Linked DNA regions of Homo sapiens: regions 1 and 3 are each linked to region 2. Evidence: promoter capture Hi-C in human tissues and cell types (Jung and others, 2019). All regions are on one chromosome and are shown on one strand. The core of a region is centred on a gene start or on the middle of the fragment in contact, and the rest is flanking DNA. Distances in the headings are between cores, read along the strand shown. Region 1 has its middle 230 kb from the start of LINC02379. Region 2 holds the start of FAT4 (FAT atypical cadherin 4). Region 3 has its middle 160 kb from the start of LINC02379.

Region 1 (2,925 bases), core at 167-2,666, 520 kb before region 2:
TATGACATTTATTTTCTAGGGATGTACACACAATGGAGAGTTGTTGAGAAGAAAAATTAAAAACTCGAGCTCAAACTCCAGATAAGCAAAAAATTCCAAATCTTTTTTGTTGGCTGGGAAAGTTCACATTACAGTATAACTATTGTTGTTCTGACTAATTACTGCTGTCAATGTCAGTAGGAAGGCTATCCATTAAACAGCTGGAAAGAACACTCCCCTTCTCTTTCAGTGGAACTGAAAAAATATCATTGGAAGCAAAAATTTAAGAAATCAACTGAAAACAAGCAACTCAGAAGTTTTCTCTGGCAAATAAATTAATAAGAAACATATTTTTTAAAAATTTGTTTGCTCTTATACTAGTTGGTGAAGTAGCAATAATGACAAAGTAGTAAACTGATCCCAATCACAAAGCCATTACAAACAAGCTCTTTAAATTTGCTTCAATTCTAGTTCATTCAAAAAGCATGATTCTCTGCCACCTCATTTTACCTTTGAAAAATGTCACGTTATATTTTTCAAGTGAGTTCTAATAAGCCAGCCAACAGCTCACTAATACGTATTGTATATTTTGGAATTTAAAGCATGAAGTCAGCAAGGGATTGCTGTTGGGTTAAGAAAAATAAGTTATTTCAGATTAAGACTCTAATTAGATAAAAATCACTAGGAAAATAAGTAATCTGGTAATGTCAGCTAAATTTACAAAGGCTTATATTCATCTTTAACTCAAAAGTTGTGTGAATAATGGCAAGCTAAAATGAAAAATTGAGTCAATTATTTAGACAATTCAAGTCTAAAATTACTGCTATTTAAGAAGCGAATATTTAGCTAACGGGGTCATGATTTATATAAATAAACAATCAATATTGACCAATTAACAGCCTTTTCCATTTCACTGGAAATATACAGCACTATCTTAATGATTTTCATGGGAACATATTAGATTTCCTTTATGTTAAATGAAAACCACAAAAGGTTTCATAAACCAAACAAAAGAAAACTAAATAGTTCATTGTATACCTTTGCTCCTAACAAGATAGAAGTAAACAGGACCCAACATGTGTGGAATTAGGTTGAATTCTGAATATCTACCTTTAACTACACATTTTTTAAGCTTAAAAAAGACCTCTCATTTCTCTATACATTTCTTAAATTACAAAGCCCCTAATAAATGGTAATTTTTATATAACTATTGTTTAAAGTGAACTTAAAATAAAACTGAGTTAAAACAAACATTGCCATATTTTACTCATGTTGTTTTTCTCAATGTTTGCCTCCTTTTTTCACTGATTTACTTTCTTTCAAAATTGGATAGAGGTGATAGCCATTTATTATGATACTTTTATTGAAACATATTGATGCTAAAATTGCCATAACTAAATATTTGCATTAAATTTATTTTAATGTATAACTGCCAGAGTGTTTAATGTACAACTTAAGTTCTCTTCATGATTATCCTGTGAAATATATACTTCAACTTGTCAAATTAACTTATTGAAATTTAGAGAGGTGAGATAGTTCTCTTTTAGCCAGATACCTAGACATGTTGGAGCTGGGATTTCATTCTGTTATGCTTAACCATTATGCTTATTTATGTAATTTCTAATTGTTGAGTTAAAGTATTATAAAGAGCAAGCTAAATAAGCGTGTATGAAAATAGCATGATTTGAGGGGTGCATTTGTAACAAGAAGGTGGCTAGCTGAATCCTGAAGCTATGCTGGGCCTCAGCTGTTAGCTTTAGATTGAGATTCACTTCATTCTTTAAGCTATACATTAAAATAAATTAGGGTCATGGTTCTCAAACTCACCTACATCTGAATGACCTGGCAGCTTAAATAAAATGCCAGAGTTTGTAAAAATAAATATATTTTAAAACAATGGTTAAAAGACATAAGACAATATTATCTGCTTTCTGCTACTTAGGGATTAGAGAATTGCATGATATAGAACACCCTGCCCTGCATACTTCTCCTACTCCCTCTTTGTCCACTATATTCCAGCCAAAATGGACTTTCCATGATTTCCCAAACAGGTCAAGACCGTTCTTCCTGAGAGCTTCTACCCGGGTGATCTTTTCCTTTATCCTTGCATGGCTGTTCCCACTCCCTCCCTTCACCCTTCTTCTTTTTCCAGTTTTTATTCTATTTCTATTCCTTTCCACTTCTTCCCACCTCTTTTTCTTTCCTCCTCTCTCCTCATCATCATCCTGTCCTCCCACTTTACTTCCTTTCTTGTGTTGCTCCATCTTTTCTTTCTCCCTCCTTTGCTCCCCTCTTCAGGCCTCCTTTCCCAGCTCTACCACTTCCTCCTTCTTCTCCCCTAATCTCTCTTCACCTCTCTCAACTCCTTGATCTTCTTCTCCAACATATTCCAATTTTTCTTTACAAGTGATGAAATGGACAGCTAAAAAGAGTAGTTTCTGGGCTCTTCCCAAAACATTATCTGAAAGGATTAAGCCATATTTTCTAGTTTCTTTACCAGAATATATGTTAGTACAATTAGTACAAGTAAATTAATAATTTTGTATCCTATATTTTGTTGGATATTAGTATTAACACTGGAAACTATCCTTTTTATTATCTTCTAGTCCTTACATGTTAACCCTAATTAAGGAACCAGCCAGCCTGTATGCTGAAGAATTCACCAAGTTTAAGTTGAAATTTTGTATTTCAGCCACCAGGAAGTTTACCTCTTAGAAGAGGCTTATAAATGCATTAGTTATATATTATACACAAATTTCAGTATTAATACAACTTTTCTAGCAGATATTGCAAAGATTCTCTACCAATTGCATGAATCCAGTGAGACAGAACATTCTCTGAACAAGTTAGTCAAAGCAAATTTATTACCCACAGAAAGGCAGAAAGGATAAACCAAGCTTAACATCCATAGCGGGCTGGTTCCCCAAGGCTTAGCAAAGCTGCCCA
Region 2 (2,736 bases), core at 103-2,602:
TTGGTCTGAGACCTCTGCTATTTCAAAGAACCTCCAGTCCGGCAAAAGCAAGTAGCATCAGCAAAAGACTCTAGGTAGCCAGTTGAACGCGGAGTGCAAGAGAGATGCTGTGGCGAAAAGCGGCAGGGCATTCCGCGGGACACTCCTGTGAGCTGAGTTCCCAGAAAAGTTTCTCAAGCCTCTTATATATGCCCCCTTTTACTTTGTTTTTGAATCCAGATAGTCTGAGCGTTTTCACCCGGGTGGATGAGAGTTGGGAGAAGTTGCCTGTATCTAAGGTATATGAGGAATCATTGCAAAGAACGGTCTTCAGAAACTTTAGAACTTACCCGCAGCGAAGAACGTGAAGAGGGAGGAACAAACGTCCAAGCACAACTGCGCACCGGGGAAGGGGTGGTGGGGAACCGGGAGAATCGAATTTCTTTCCCAAAAGCTGGAGGCGATGGAATTCCTGGAGTCCCCACTCCTCAAAAACCAGGCTGCAACGCCCCTCCAACAGGGCGCCGGCAGTGGCCGCTGAGGCCCAGGCGGCGGCGTCTGCGCGCAGGCAGTTCGGGAACTGCGTTCCAAGCGCTAGCGTTCGCGCTCTGGCTCCCGTACCCGGGAGCGCTCAACTCTGCCCCTTCCCCTCCTGCAGCCGCCGCCGCCGCCGCCCCTGTTGCGGCTTCAAGCCCGTGGTCCGGCACAAACAACAGCCAGGGCTCCTCGGCATTTTTCACCTCTGCCGGGGCGCCTGCCGACCCATTATTTGTACATCCAAATCGAACGCAGTTTCCCCTTTCTTCTCGGCCTCGCAGGGGTCGGGCAGAAACAGCGTGCGGTCCCCGAGTCGCCCTCCCCTCACCATGCCAGGGGGGGTCGTTCTCCGGCGGCCCCAGTCAGAAGCCCACTCTAGCGCGCCTCGCCCCTGCCCTCGCTATCTCTGCTTTTATTGTCCCGTGTCAGTTTCACTTTGTAATCCACAAGGCTTTTTGTTTGGGGCGGGGGGTGGTTGATGCCTCTCTCTCCTTCACAGTTGGCAGCGGAGGCGGCGAAGTCGGCGCTGGGCTGTAGTGACGCCCTCCGCAGCTCCGGACGGCGCCTGTCAGCGCTCTCCCTCTCGCCGGCCGGGGCCGAAGGTTGGACTGCGGTGGAGCTAGGGCTCCGCGAGCCCTTCTCCACCTCCCGCCTGGTCCCTCACACTCTCCCCGCCCCTTCCCCGCCGCACAGGCATGCACACACACACACATACACACGCACACACACACACACAGCGCGTCGCCGAAACACAAACAGAGGGGGAGGGAAGACCGCGAGCTGGAGCAGCACTCAGAAACTTTGCTCGACACTCATTGATCCCCGCACTTTAGTTCGCCTGGACTCCCCCTAGCTCCCAGTCCTGTCACCTTCTGCCCCTCCCTCGCCCCAGCCCCATTGGGCCGGAGCTGAAGCAGCCCCGACCGGCACTCCTACCGCGAGCGCCCTCCGCCTTGCCCGGCCTCCGACTGGCTTCTCGGGATGCTAATCACTTCAGCCTCCCGGAGGGCTGTAGGCGGTCTGGTGTGGGAGCACAGCGAGGCGGAGGCGCTAAAAAGGGGGGTGATTTTTTTTCTTTTCTTTTTTTTTTTTTTTTTTCCTTTTCGGCCAAATCTTGGCCGGCGTCAGAGCAATAACAGCAAAAGGCTGCCGCAGAATAGATGGGGGTGGGGTCAGGTTTGCAGATAAATAACTTTAGTGGCAGGGTCTGGGGGAAGACCGTTAGGTTGTTATGCTAGTAATAACTCAGGGGTAAGGGGGTCGAGAGAAATAAAAGAAAGGCGGGGGGTGAGGGTCTGTTAAAGCGGGGAGGAAGGATTAAGCAAAGCCTGTCTGGGAATGCACAGTGCAGATTTGCTTTAACCATTTCCTGCCCCTTCTCTCTTTATGCAAGGGATAGAGCTGCCATACAGTGTGATCCCACAGAATCCAAATCAAATCCTCCCCTTTGCTCCTCTTTCTACACAGTGGGCTCCCTGCTGTCTAGGGCGAGCTAAACTCTAAATCTTCACTCACTTGCCCCTCTCCCCCACCTTCCAGGTGACTAGGGGGCAGGAGGCCTCCGTAGCAAGGGCACTTTGGACTTCCTACTATAGGAAAGGCCAGGGGAACTCAGTGTTTGTTTTGTTTTCTTTCCCAACTGGATTCCAGGTGCCAGTAGCCCAAACCTTAGGGTTTCAACAACAATAATAATGGCAGCCCTTTGAAAAGAGGGAGATCTTTTCCTGTTGCAAAGTTAGTTTGGAATTTTGATCCCTGATGGAGTATTTCCACCTCCACATTTTTTAGTCAAAGGAAACCTAATAAAGTTTTATTTTGCTTTTCAGTCTGGGAGAAATAGATACGAGAAAGTAGAAATAAATAAAATAATATTTAAGCTTAAGTTTTTAAAAATACCCACATGCCACTTAATGCACTCAGATCAACTCACCCACTATTCACTGCAGTTAATTTTTGTGGTGGCATGCATCGTTTCTTTAAAAGAAGAAAAACGTTACTAGGAATCAGATCGATATTTTTCCCCTTTAAGGGAACCAACCTAGAAAATAAGAATTCAAGCCAAACAATGCAAATACAGGGCATATGTCATACATTTCTGCCACAAGGATCCCTCACAAACGTAAAACTTTCTGCGCCCAGAGAGGGTTCAGTCATGAGTAAATACTGCCCTCTGCTGTTCTACGTCAGTCTTACATCTTTAGTCTCCTGGTTTCTTGCTTA
Region 3 (2,700 bases), core at 28-2,527, 590 kb before region 2:
TGGAAAAATGTATCTTTCCACCGTATAATCAGGCACTAATCTCATATAGAGATTCTTGTAGCATAATTAACCACAAAATGAAGATTCCAAAAGTACTTAGCTCAGATCAACAAAACATCATAAAGAAACTTTGTACATGATATTGTATATTTTGAGATCACACTTAAATGTAATCTTTAAAATTATTTCTCTTTCTATTCCTTTGATGTCTTTGACCTTGTTACATTTTGTTTCTTTTAAATGTTTTCTTGCCATCCATTACTTAGTTAAATCCTTATCTTTTACTATTCTTTCAGGGTGTCTTCCATCAATGCTTTTCTGCAAGGAAATGGCATCTAACAGTATCTAATGACAAGAAAAATATGGTTGATGAATCCAAAGATGCTTTTACAAATAAATGAGTAAAGGAAAAGTGAATAAATGCATGACATTGAAAATTTTCAAAAGCACATTAACTTTCAATGATTTAATCTAAAAGCATGGAAATAATAACGATCAGGACTATGTTTGGGGATCACCAACCATAAAAATAAGCAGTAATAAAAATTAGTCAGTTGGTTATTTTTACTAACTAGCTTTCATAAATCATTTGATGTCATTACCTGATTCTTGTTTTACATATCCAAGGGACATGCATAGGAGGGCCAAACAAGGTCATGGCTGATGCTGAAATCAATATTAACAGTCCTGAAAGGCTTGCTCATCTCTGTACTATCCAGGCATTATTAAACTACTGGGATGATAGCAATGTTGATGATGACTATGATGATGATGACGATGATGATGACAATTAAATATAAAGTGAGTGACTTTCATTTTGGAATTTGAAAGACTCCTAGAATTGATGTGTTTGTAAGCTGGCAAGAGGAAGTAAGAACTTTAAATTGCCCCATATGATCAAGTTTAAATGAATGATTTAAACTGGTACTTCAGGTTGTGATGGAGTAGTAAATGGTGAGGGGAAATATAACCCAAGTAATGAAGAAACATTCAAGCTTTACAGAAATTGACCCAGGATGGCTTCATCCATATCATTTTGCCTGTTAGTAATTAGAAGATCACATTGATGCTCTTCCCAACAGATCTGTCCATATTTGAACCACTTTCCAAGTGTTTCAGTGCTGACTTTTGTGATTTAATGGTTTACTTTTCCCTCCTCATTGCACAGGATGAAAGAAGGCAGAATCACTGGCTAATGGAGTTTGATAGCCATTTATCTAAGGCAAACTTGGACCAGATTTAACTGTTCTTACTCTGCTTATCATGATGTGAAAAGCTTTGGGACTGAACACTTTTTTTTCTTTAGTAAATGGTTATAATTATATTTCAATGACCTTTTAAACATCTACTTATCTACTTACATACGAAATTACAAAACTGAAGCATGAGATTTTTTCAATCCATTTCTTGAGACTAGAATTATTCCCACTGTGGTGTGAATCAGAGCATGGTTATGATCATTTAAACATACCAAATTGCACAATTATTTTTACAATCCCACAGCGCTGATCTCTTTCTACTCTTGTCTTCTCAATGTAAATTTCTTCTCTTTGCCATTTAAGAAGTGGAAGACAAGTATAAAGAAATATAAATGAATAAATGCAATACATACCTGCTATTTTAGATACCTTTACAAAGTGTATTCCTTCTTTGTTTCATCCACACATTCAAATACTTAAAAGAATGCCTAATCTGCACCTGGCAATATCATAGGCACTGGGGATATGGCATAAGCAAGATAAATCATTGTCATTGTAAAACAGATGATAATAAGCAGAGATTAAAAAAACTTGTAAGCAACAATTATTTCAGATAAGGATAATCAACAGAGAGAAAATAAAACACAATAATGCAGAAAAGCACATGTTTGTATGGCAAGGGCAAAGAGAACATGAGGAGCATCTCTAATTAGAGCACACAGCAGAGGCTAAGCCAAGGACATGACATTTAAGCTAGTACAGATGCAATCTCAAAATAATTAATAATATCATAATGTGATGTTGAAAACATTTATTTGAAATTAAATAAAATGCTTCAATGAATACTTTTAATACTTAAGTACACTAAAAAGCAAAAGTATCACTTGTAAAAGGAGGGAAAATCTTTAAATTTATTTTTATGTTTGGAAAGTAGCACCAAGATTGTTACATATACGAAGTGAAAATTAATATAATTTGACACTATAGTGATATAAAATATTGTATTTTTCCTTGTCTCTTTGAACAACTTTATCACATATAATGCCAAAAATGACAAAATCCCAAGGGAAAGGGTAGGCTTCTATTTTAAAGATGATTCATGTATCTATAATATTTGGAAAATATGAAATTAGGGTGAGATCAGAAATATGTAGAAGTATGAATCTCTTGATTACATAAGAATGCTAAATACTGCCTTAGGTCATATACGGTAGACTTTTTACAAAAATACACTGGAAACTGTTACTAAATTCTTATCACTTTTGTGAAGCCAGCTGTCAACTTGAGATCTGGTAACAGATATCTATAGGTTTCTAATTGTTGCCAGCGAAATCACCCTGTTATGTTTGGATGTGTGTGCCTTCCAAATCTCATGTGCTCCCCAGTGTTGGAGGTGGGGCCTAGTGGGAAGTGTTAGATAATGGGGAAGGATTGCTCCTGAATGGCTTAGCTCCATACCCTCGATGATGAGTGAATTCTTGCTCTGTTAGTTTACAGGAGA

What was found. The method cuts DNA at HindIII sites, captures the fragments that hold promoters and counts their contacts. A contact is called where the count stands out against the background at its distance.
Region 1: a contact is called between a fragment that was not itself captured here and the fragment with the promoter of FAT4 in region 2, in 2 of the 25 tissues and cell types used here (H1 embryonic stem cells and stomach).
Region 3: a contact is called between a fragment that was not itself captured here and the fragment with the promoter of FAT4 in region 2, in 1 of the 25 tissues and cell types used here (H1 embryonic stem cells).

Annotation. Positions count from the first base shown.
Region 1 is chr4:125,828,628-125,831,552 of GRCh38, reverse strand. No RefSeq gene overlaps it. Among named protein-coding and RNA genes, the nearest start is that of LINC02379, 230 kb to the left of the region's middle. The HindIII fragment of the contact is 6,615 bases long and covers 1-2,925 here.
Region 2 is chr4:125,313,571-125,316,306 of GRCh38, reverse strand. FAT4 (FAT atypical cadherin 4) reads right to left here and starts at 1,352. Exons shown (of 18, transcript NM_001291303.3): 1 at 330-1,352. The HindIII fragment of the contact is 10,793 bases long and covers 1-2,736 here.
Region 3 is chr4:125,900,728-125,903,427 of GRCh38, reverse strand. No RefSeq gene overlaps it. Among named protein-coding and RNA genes, the nearest start is that of LINC02379, 160 kb to the left of the region's middle. The HindIII fragment of the contact is 5,660 bases long and covers 1-2,700 here.